2 separate regions of the Homo sapiens genome follow, and region 1 is linked to region 2. The links are contacts of gene promoters, found by promoter capture Hi-C in human tissues and cell types (Jung and others, 2019). All regions are on one chromosome and are shown on one strand. The core of a region is centred on a gene start or on the middle of the fragment in contact, and the rest is flanking DNA. Distances in the headings are between cores, read along the strand shown. Region 1 has its middle 52 kb from the start of PDYN. Region 2 holds the start of PDYN (prodynorphin).

What was found. Contacts are between HindIII fragments. The study calls those that stand out against the background at their distance.
Region 1: a fragment that was not itself captured here is called in contact with the fragment with the promoter of PDYN in region 2 in 1 of the 25 tissues and cell types used here (hippocampus).

Annotation. Positions count from the first base shown.
Region 1 is chr20:2,043,138-2,048,748 of GRCh38, forward strand. No RefSeq gene overlaps it. Among named protein-coding and RNA genes, the nearest start is that of PDYN, 52 kb to the left of the region's middle. The HindIII fragment of the contact is 3,633 bases long and covers 832-4,464 here.
Region 2 is chr20:1,990,914-1,996,753 of GRCh38, forward strand. It overlaps PDYN (prodynorphin), which reads right to left and starts at 3,145. Exons shown (of 4, transcript NM_024411.5): 1 at 2,998-3,145; 2 at 1,671-1,730. All of the region lies in intron 3 of PDYN-AS1 (PDYN antisense RNA 1), which reads left to right. RefSeq lists an enhancer at 2,685-3,515. The HindIII fragment of the contact is 29,966 bases long and covers 1-5,840 here.

The sequences.
Region 1 (5,611 bases), core at 1,398-3,897, 52 kb after region 2:
TGAGGACTGGAATTTTACATACTTACTTAATTTTAATTAATGTAAATTGGAGTAGCCACATGTGGTTATACTGGACATGCAGTGTTAGATAATTTACAATGTTTGTTCCATGTGCCAATTACAAACGTACTGCTTCTCAGCTCCAAAGTCTCCCTTTATTGCCTGGTCTGCAATAATAGAGTTGGGCCTTGTGAAGATTCTTCCTTTGCCAGGCAGCACAATGTTAAGCTTTGACATGAGGGGACACAGAAGAGACACTGAAGGAGAAAGGTGTTTCTCTTCCTTTTCCCAGTGCACTTCTCTCCACAGGCTTTTATGGTTTATGCATCACCTGGTTCTGGAAGTGCAGGCTGCTTTTGCAGGTTCTAGCTCCAGTAGCACATGTGGCTTCTCCAGTGTCTGGCTTCTGCAGTGCATGTGGCTTCTGCAGCACCTGGGTCCAGTCTTGGCTTCAACTTCCAACTCCTAAAAGGCAGGCACCAGTCCCTACAGGGTGCAGCAGCCAGCAGTACCCAAATGCAAACAGGTTTCCCCAGAAACTCCTTAGGTGACTTCAGAGTGGAATGCCACAGATGAGGTACCTCCCTGTGAACTGCCTCTGGTGGCTCCCCTTTGGGCAGATTTCCAGCAAGTTTCAAGGCACAGCATCTCTGCATGGATGGTCCTCATTGGGATGCAGGAGGGAAGATTTCAGCAAGTCCCGCTGGGGCAGTAGCTTGGACACTGCTCCACTAGTCAGTGAGCCACAGCCATGCCTTCTCCAACAAGGTCTGGATCACAGTGTGGAGCTCGGGGATCGTCCTCGAGCACTCCATCTCAGTCCTAAGAGTAGTGGGTACTCCTCATACCTGCTATTCCTGCATTCTTTACAGTTCTTCACTTCTTACCAGCCAATCCCTTATTATGCCAATTCTCTCCTATAGTTAACCGTGTTCATATTAAACTTTCTCTGTTCAAATTACTGTACAGTTTTTATCCCCTGACTAGACTCTGGCTGACATAGGAGTCGTCTCAGGAAATAGATCTGTAAAGATGGGACTTGGGCATTGGTTTGGTCATGCCCTTGGGCTTGAGCACAGTAATGAGCTTCTTACCAATGGGAAATGGGATGCTAGCAATTCATTGCATGCAGTGCCAATTAAACAAGCTACAACCAACCGAAGCAAGTGTCCAGGGAGCCCAGGAGGATGCTCCACTTGATTGTTACAGCAGTAATGATGACTGTAATGACTGCAGTGTGGAATATATTCTTTTGAGTGGACTTGAATGCTTATAGGGAGAAAATGCCAAACTCAGCTCAAATCATGACCTGAAAACCAGAGAGGTTAAATGAATATTTTATTTCTTATAGATACAAGGCTGATGTTGCTGAAAAAGATAACAAAAATTTAATTGTGTAGATTGCCGAATTATAGTGTCAGTCAGATTCACAAGCTTACTAAGTTGCTCAAATGAAAGTTGATTGGAAAAAAATGGAATCATAAAACTGGAAACAGGGACATCTGGTTGGACCTAGATGAAGTTGATAATCTTGAATCCCAAAATCACTGTGAGCTTCTCTTACCAGTGGAAGTAGCTTGCCCTCTGGTGTATTAGGACACTAGCATTTCTTTGCTTGATAGCCCTGTGACAACCTCATCTGAGGCAAATACCTTGAAAAGGTATGGTCATTCTTTTCCAAACCCACCACGACCACCTTTTGTTGCCACTAGACCTATAACTAGGGTCAAATAACAGTATGCTCCAGGGAGACAGGTACACATTATGACCTTGGAGAAAATAGCTTAAACACCAAAAGAATTGCAAAAATTTGCTAATGTATATCAGCATTAACCTGGGTAACATGTGTGAGTATGGAATTGAAAGGTGTTAGACCAAGTAGGGTAGATTATAACACTATAGTGAGCAAATTCACTGATGTAAGTGAACTTACTAGTGACTGGATTTGGGGGAGAGCGTGAGAATGTCATACTTTTAAGGAGGATAGCTCTAACTTGTATGGACCTCATGTTACTGGAAGCGTCTCTAACTGCTTTCTTGGTTGTTGACTAAAACTTGGGCTCAATGGTGACTTACACTGAATGATATTGAGATGCCAGAACTTCCCTAAAATTACACAGAGGAGGAAATTCAAAGGCTTAGGGAGACCAGAAGTTTTGCCTGGATGTATCACATGCAATCTGCCCACTCACCTGCCAACTGTCTTCATAAGAAAGCCCAGCAGACACTCACTTGACTAAGGCAATGAGAAATACTAGCTTTGATTATTTCCCAGGTGGAAATACTTCAATCAGAGAATGCAAAAATGATTCCATTGAATTGGAAGGTGAGGCTGTCACTTGGCCATTTTGGGACTCTTTATGCCACTGAATCAATAAGCAGAAAAGGGCGTTATTCTGTGGGTTGGAATGATTGATCCTGATTAACAAGAGAAAACTGGATTGCGGCTGCCACAAAGTGGGGACAAGAAGATCTATGCCTGGAATGCAGTGGATTCTATGGATCGCCTCTTAGTGTGTCCATGCCCAATAATAAACATTAAGATAAAACTATAGCAACCCGAAAAAAGGCAGAATAATTGAGGACTCAGGCCATTTGAGAAGGAAGGTTTGGATTGCCCCATCAAATAAGGAACCCCAACTAACTGAGGCTCTGTTGGAGAGCAAAGGAAACACAAATTGGGTAGTAGAGGCTAGGCGTGGTGATTCACACCTGTAATCCCAGCATTTTAGGAGGCTGAGATGGGTGGATCGCTTGAGCTCAGGAGTTTGAGACCAGTCTGGGCAACATAGTGAGGCCCAATCTCTACAAAAAAATTAAAAATTAGCCAGGTAGAGTGGCATGTGCTTGTAGTCCTAGCTACTCGGGTTGCTGAGGTGGAAGATCGCTTGAGTCTGGGAGGTCAAGGCTGCGGTAGCTGTGACTGCACCACTGTGCACTCCAGCCTGGGAAACAGAGCAAGACCTTGTCTGAGGGGTGGGTAACGGAAGAAGGAAGCCATGGATATCAGCTATGACCTCATGACCTATTACAGAATCAAGGCCTGTAGCAGCTCTGCAAATGCTCTCTTTGCTTGTTAGAAGAATGTGCTAACTACTTTATTCTTTTTCTTCTTATTTTTGTTTTATATTATACAAGTTTTTGAAGCTTAATTTTATAATTTAGCCTTTAGATAACAGAATATTCGGTGGTACTATAACAGATTGAAAGACAATTAATATATCCAGCAATGGATATAATGACTGTCAGGATGGTGCAGTGCCTCATTTTGGGGAGAAGGTGAGAACTGCTTACTAATGTAAGGAGGATAGTTATATCTTGTTAGATGGGAAGAGGAATTGTTTTATTATATGGGACTCTAAATGTGTGTAGAGGGTGCACATGTAAGCCGAGTAGCTGTGGTGACACATGCTAAGGTGATCCCCAATAAGTAAGGGCTTTGTATATCATCACTTCCCCCTTAAATGTAGGGAAACCTGTGACTTACTTCTAGCCAATAGAATACAGCAAAGGTGATAAGATAGTAACTCCCATGATTATATTATGCGATATAAGTCTCCATTTTCGCAGATTTAAGCCAGAGGGTCCTGTGCTGGCTTTTAAGAAGCTGCCATGTCGTGGGCGGAGGGCTATGAGAAGACCTGTGACAGGGCCACGTGGCAAGGTACTATGAGTGACCTCTAGGACCTGAGAGTGACCCGCAGTTGACAACCAGCAAGAAAATGGGGACCTCAGATCTACAATCACAGGGAACTGAATTATGCTCCCAACTACATGAGCTTGGAAAGGGATTCCAAGCTCCAGAAAGGACCACAACCTAGAAGACACCTGGACTGCAACCTGATGAGAGCCTGAGCAAGAAACCCAGCTAAGCCAAGCCCAGACTCCCAACCCATGAAAACTAGGGTCATACGTGTACGTTTGGTTTTTTGTTTTGGTTTGGCTTGGATTTTTTTGTTTGTTTTTAAGTGTACAATTCAGTGGTTTTTAGTATATTCACAATGATGTGCAACTGTCACTACTATTTAATCCCAGAATATTTCCATCATTTCCCACCAAATAACACCATACCTTTTAATTTTTCCCTGCACTCTTCTCTTGGTAACCACTAATTTACTTTTTGTCGCTATAGATTTGACTATGCTGGACATTTTATATAAATAGAATCATACAATATGTGGGCTGTTGTGGCTGGTTTCCTCCACTTAACATGAGGTTTTCAAGGTTTATCCATGTTGCAGCACATGTTAGCATTTCACTCATTTTAATGGCTGAATAATAGGCCTTTATGAGCATGCCACATTTTGTTTATTCATTCATCAGTTGATGAACATTTAGGTTGCTTCCACTTTTTGATGGAACATTCAATCATTTGACCAGTCATCTACAAATTTTTGTGTGGATACATGTTTTTAATTCTCTTGGGTATATACCCAGGAGTATAATTGCTAGATCACATGGCAACTCTCTGTTTAACATTTTGAGGAATTGCCAGATAGTTTTCCAAACTGGCTGCATCATTTTACATTTCCACCAACAATATGTGAGGGTTCCAATTTCTCCACATGCTCAACACTTGTCATCCGTCTTTTTTATTACAACCACCCTAGTGAATGTAAAGTGATATCTCATTATAATTTTGAAATTTGAAAATCTCCCTAATGTCTAATGATGTTTAGCAACCGACTTTGCCCATTTTTAAATTGTTTCTTTATTGTTGAGTGGTAAAAGTTTTTTGTTTGTTTGTTGTTGTTGTTTGTTTGTTTTTGTTTTTGTTTTTGAGACAGAGTTTCACTCTTGTTATCCAGGCTGGAGTGCAATGTCATGATCTCGGCTCCCTGCAACCTTCGCCTCCTAGATTCAAGCAATTCTCCTGCCTCAGCTTCCCAAGTAGCTGGGATTACAGGCACATGCCACCATGCCTGGCTAATTTTGTATTTTTAGTAAAGATAGGGTTTTACTATGTTGGTCAGGCTGGTCTTGAACTCCTGACCTCAGGTGATCCACCCACCTCGGCCTCCCAAACTGCTGGGACTACAGGTGTGAGCCACTGCGCCTGGCCAAGAGTTATTTCTATATTCTGATACCAGGCTTTTATCAATTACATGATTTGTAAATATGTTCCCTCATTCTGTTGGTTGTCATTTCACTTTCTTAATAGTATCCTTGGCCGCACAACAGTTTTTAATTTTGATAAAGTTCAACGTATCCCTTTTTAATTTTGCATCCTGTGCTCTTGATATCACATTTGAGAAACCATTGTCTAATTCAAGATCACAAAGAGGTATGCCTGTGTTTCCTTCTAACAGTTGTATAGTTTGAGCTCTCATATTTAGGTCTTTCATACATTTTGAGTTAATTTTTGTATATAGTGTGAAGTGAGAATCCAAAGTAATTTTTTTGCCTGTGGATAGCTAGTTGTTCCAGCACCATTTGTTGAAAAGACTGTTATTCTTTTCTCATTGAGTGGTTTTGGCATCATGTCAAAAAATTGATTCACTATAGATGTATGGGCTTATTTCTGGAGTCTCAATTCTATTCCATCAATATATATGTCTATCCTTATGCCAATACCCCACTGTTCTGATTACTGGTAGCTTTGTAGTAATGT
Region 2 (5,840 bases), core at 1,895-4,394:
CCGAGAAAAAGCAGAGAGAGGTGGAGGACCATATGGGAAGAAAAAATAAGATGAGACATAGAGATGGGGAGAGGACAAATGGGAATAGAAGGGAAGGGGGTGAGGAGGAGGGGAAGAAGAGGGAAAAAAGGGAAGGGAAGTGAACACAATAAGAGAGAGAGAAGTGGGGAGGGAGAGTAGATTTTGATTCAGGATGCTGACATACCGTGTGAATCACAAACACCAATTCTCTCCCTCCTGCTGCTCTCTGAGTCTGCCCTTTGTTCCTAGGGACCAGTGGGCAAGAGACCCTGCCACATAATAACTGCTCAGTAAACCGCTGTCAAGTTAAATCAAATCGTCCAGGAATAGGACAGGGACCAAATGGCAGTTCAAGCCAATGCATCAACAAATTGCCTCGGTGCATATGTCTGCGGCTTGTGGCCAGCCGCTCTGGCCAGTGGGATGACCTGGATGGACTCGGAGGAGCCCCCTGAGCCAAGCCATGTGCCTCATGGACCTAGGCCATCGTCCTCCTGCCAGGAGCATCAGTCTGGATCCAGGCTGGGAGGGACTGATGAGGCTGCGCTTCACAGCACTAACAGACCCCACTCCATTTCGAGGGTCTGATCCTGGGGCTTACCTGGGTGTCTCCAGCCGATGTTCACTGCCTACCACAGTGGCCAGCTCTGTCTCAGTGAAACAGGTTTATCACTTTGTCAGACCCAGCAAGATTAGCCAACATTCATGGGCTGAGATGAGTGAATACAGTGAGAGAAATCAGCTGTGTAACCACACTTTGTCAGGCATGCATTGAAATCGAACCAGTAACTATTGATCTCTCTTACAATGATGGAAGAGATCTAATAAATACGACAATTGTGCAGGAATGACCCAAGGAGGTGGGTAGTGGGAGGTGGATTTAGGGAGTATCGATCAAAAAGAGACTTCATGATCCTGATGCAGCAGATGAAATAAAAAGTCTTCTGCTGGGATGGGGAGGGGAAAGGAGCACCAGCCCCTCAAATGAAAATATTAGACATTAGATCATATCTCCTGGACATAGCACACAGCATGATGGAGTGGGATGATCAGCGATATGATAATCGATGGAGAGAAAGGTCCAACCTCACCACTTCGGAACAGTGAAAATCTGAGCAGTCATGCCAGTATTTATTGAGCACCTACTGAATGCCAGGCATTTTGCTATATCCCATTGGAGACTTGCAATAACCTTAGGAGGTGAATATTATTATTATTCTCATCATACAGGTAAAGAAAGTATGACTCAGAGAGGGACTTCTACTGTTCCAAAGTCACACAGTAAGTGAGTGGTAGGATCTGGGATTTCAGCCCAGCACTGTTTCAGGTGTTGTGAGACACACGTGTAGATGACAGATGGAAAATTCCTGCCTCCCAGGAGTTACTTCAAGAAACCTTAACTCCTTCCACGTGTTTTAAGATCGCAAATCTCTCAAATAGCCCCAGAGCTGATCCCTTTGCCTGCTCCCTTAAAATGTGCTGCCTTCCGCCACATAGCCTTGGGAACCAGTGTGACATCCCCCTCCCAGCTGCCAACAGAGGCATAGGGTTTGCCTGCCACCTATCACACCTCTAGCTCAGCTGGGGCAAAGCAGTGGGCTTGAGATCCCGTCAGTGAACGCAAACCACCCCCAGGCAGCATAACTCACCGGCTTGGGCTGCTGCAACAGCTCCCCCCACGCAGATCTCAAAGCCTGAAGATAAATGACCTGCAAAAATAGAACAAAGGCAAGGTGTGGTGGGACTGGGGGGAGAAGAGGAGGGGAAAAGAGAAGGAAGGTGCCACAGAGGGGTGGGAGTGAGGCCTGGGGTGAGAAAGAACAGAAGAGGATCGACATTCTGCAATGCTTTGCAATGGATCTCGACTGGGATGCCTGTCAAATTAGAAAGGCAAGCCTTGTATATTTCAGCAACCCTTGGAAGAAAGATGATAATGAAGACTTTCAGTCTGTGGGAGGGGAATTGAAATCAGATCCAATAATCGAAAGAGCTTGTTTCCCCTGGGAAGACTGGAGACTTAATTAAGTAATGTTTGTAGAGCTTGGAGGGATTCTTGATACCCAGGAAAAAGTAAGCAGTTGCAGAATTTACTCTTCAACCTTGGAGTAGTCAGCAGGCTTTTTTTTTTTTTTTTTTTTTCCTGAAACTCATCAGCTTTTTGCTAGAATCAAACTTTGAGACTTGGTACTTTTCTGAATATGGGTCTCTGGACCAGTGAGCAAATGGCTTTCCCTTTGAGCCTCCTCCTGGCCTTAGACTCCTCTGGCTGTAGTTAATAGGAGAGCAACAAGTCCTTTCCAAGTAAAATGGACAAGAAAATGCCTGCTAAGCCTGGGCCTCCTGGCTTGTTGTCACTCCCTTTTCCCATTCCCTTCCAACAAAACATCCCCAAACTTCAACCTGTATCAAATTCCATCAAAAGAAGCCGCTCAAACCAGCACCCTGTCAGCAATTAAACACAATCCGAAAAGAATGAAAAGGCCGAACCTGGCCGTACATTGATGTACATGTTATGTGATAAATGCCAGAGCCTTGGATCTCATTAATGTCCTCAAGCCATTGTTCTCTAAGTCCAGTGAGACTCATTGACCTTTAAAATCACCCTGATTAGTGAAACCTCTCACTTCTCCCATCCAGGGTGTCCCATTTTCCCCAGACCCTGGGAATGGCATGGGAACTGCTGTGTGGGAGACTGCAAGAAGGAGACCCTGGAGCTAAAGCCAAAGGGTGGTCCTCTTGGGAGAGAGCTTACCACCTGTTTAAGCCAGGACTGTGCAGAAAGGGAGAGTCCAAAGAGCAGTCTCTCACTGGTCTGGCTTTTGTGAACTAGCCTCCTAACTGTAACCACCTTTGCTAGATAATCAGACCCAAACCTAAAATCCCCAGCCCGAGCTCCCACCATCTCTAGGTCCAGAGGACCAGGAATAAGCAAATAAAACCAAGCGATAGAATTCCAGTGCCCCCTCTGGATGTTACCTGCACTCTGCTTTGTCCCTGGGCAGCTTCTGGCCGAGCAGGTCGGAGGTGGCAGTGGCTGGTCCAAGGCTCAGGGGCCTCCTTGACTCCGGCTTGGGAGGAGGTGCCAAAGAGGCAGCTGTGAACACCACCAAAGCCCCTTCAAATGGCAGTTCTGGTGCCTCTTCCCCCCTTTTATGGACGAGAGCCTCCCCTGTCGCTCAGCCCTTGCTGAGCACAGGCTGCTGGGAGCCAATGGGGAAGTGGCTGAGAGCAGTCAGAGCACAGACCCCCAGGCCCTTCAACTCGAACTCCCTGGGCCTGACACAATAGGCTTCTCTTCGTGACAGGGATGTGGAGGAGGAAGGCAGCCGTGTTGGGGAGGGGGCGGATTCTGGGTGTAGTGCTGTTTGTCACTTGAAATCCGGCCACTTCAGTTTTTGATGCGTTTCCAGGAGAGTGTCACAGGAAAAAGAAGACAGGGAAGGACAGAGACAGAAGAGTTAGAGAAAGAGAGAGAGAGAGAGAGACTCAGAGAGAATCGGAAATCGAGAAAGAGGCAATGTCGGACCTAGGGAGTGATACAAAGGAGGGGAGAAAGAGAAAGAAAAACAGAGACAGAGAGTGGCAGAGATAGGGAGATGGGTAGAAACACAAGGAGAGAGGGACAGAGCAAGAAAAAAGGAAACCAGCCAGGTAGACTGTCAGACTCAAAACACACTGATCCACAGACAGACAGACGTGGAGACAGACAGAGGCTGAGACAGTCTTCTGATCACGGAAGAGAGTCGGAAGATGACAGCCGAGTCAGCAGGCACGTGCATGGCCCGCTGTTGCGTGCCGTGGCAACTCTGTGTTGGCTGGTGCACGCGTGTGCTGGAATCTTTTTGTGTGTACATTTGCCTGCAAACGGCATTCGGCTCTGGTACATGCCTGAGCTGGTGCCAGGCACACTAGCCCTGGCAGAAGCACAGCTCTTCCCCGACAGCCAGGAGCTGCAGTTTAGTTTTCTCTGGCGGCAACACAAAATGAATAGCAGGAAAAACCCCTCAAAATATGGGCTGCAATATGCCTCAGCACACACTCTGGGTGAGGGATGGACCCACCTCAATATACCCTTGGCCTGGACCAGCAGCAGCTTGAAGGTGGCACTCTTCATTGCTACAGAGATCTTCCAGAACATAAGGGTCTTTGAGTTTGGAAGAGAACATGCTTCTCTTCTCAGTCAATAGCAGACAGTTTGTGGTGGGAGGCACAACTATTTCAGAAGTCTGGCAGGGCCGCCCATTTTGTGGGCACCTGGCTGCACCAGGCGGTTAGGTAGAGTTGTCAGATTTAATCCTCATGACCTAGCCAGTTGGTTAATATTATCCCCATCTTGCAGATGAGAAAACAGAGGTTTGAGAGCTGAGAAACTTTCCTAGAGACACACAGCAAGTAAGTCATCCAGCTAGAACCTAAAGTCAGGTCCATCTATCCTCCAAGTTCCTAGAGACACACAGCAAGTAAGTCATCCAGCTAGAACCTAAAGTCAGGTCCATCTACCCTCCAAGTTCCTAGAGACACACAGCAAGTAAGTCATCCAGCTAGAACCTAAAGTCAGGTCCATCTACCCTCCAAGTTTCTGCCCCCTCCCTTGCCTCTCCCCAGGCTTGAATCTGCCCACACTGAGGGGTGGGGTCAGTTTTCTTCTCTGGGACTCAGCCTCTCCATACACAGGCTGTGCTTAATGACATTTAAGATGTGAGTTTGACTCTCAGGTCTGCCACTCACCATCGGAGAGACCTTGGATAAGCTGCCAACTTCAACCTCTGATTGCTCATCTGTACAGTGGGGACAACAGTATCATGGGGCTCTTGGGCTCTTGTGAGGGTGAAAGGAGGATGTGTCAATAGCACTTAAAGCAGCCAGTACGGAGCGGATGTTCTGCTCCCATCATTCCTGATAAACCACATCCCTCCAGCTTTGATGCAGCAGGTTCTCCTGGGCATCCTCCTCTCCCTGCACCTGGCTCGTTAAACTCTCACATAAGGAGGAGGGTAGAAGGGGCTGTTTGCTGAACACCTATTATGCCTCAGACATTTCCACATTCCATCACATCCTCACAACAAGAAAACCTGTGGTGTGGATCTCACAATGCGTCCTCAGATGGAGAAGGCAGCAGAAGTTCAGAGAGGCCCCAGCCACCCAGGGAGGGAGGAAGAACCGAGACCCATCCCTCAGATCCTGAAGCTGCAGCCCCACCACACTCCCCTCTGGACCCACAGCCTCACTTTCCTTCTCCTCCCTGTCTCCTCTTCCCGAGGCAGCACAAGGGGTCTGACTGGCGGGTGCAAGCGACTCCTGGTGCCCTATGTGGAAGCCCCTGCCCAGTTGGTGATAGCCAGTGCGCAGGGTCACCAAGCACTTGGCCACATCTCAGGCTGGCTTCTTGCATGGTGGCCAGAGGACATGAGTGGAGTCTATTCATTGCCACCCTGGGAATCTGGGAGCCCAGGAGTGAGCGTCTACTTCATCCCCAAGGCCAAAGCCTCACTCCAACTGCTCTCTTTCCTCATTTTTCATTTCCTCCTTCTCCTCCTAACCTCTGCCTCTATAAGCTCTTGGTAATAACCTTCGAATACACAGAGACTCTTAGAGAGGGAGTACAATGGCTCCCGTGGCTGGAAGTCAGCAAGCACTGGAAGAGCAGAGGACAGGGGCCTCTCCTGACTGTTATTCACCAGAGGGAAGTTGGGGCAGTGAGAGTAGAGACACTCATGGATAATCCTCATTAAGCCATTGATGTCTGATATCCTTCACCCCCTGAGTCTACTGTTGCCTCAAGAGCAAATAGTTCCTGCATTTGCCTTTCCTCTCCTTCC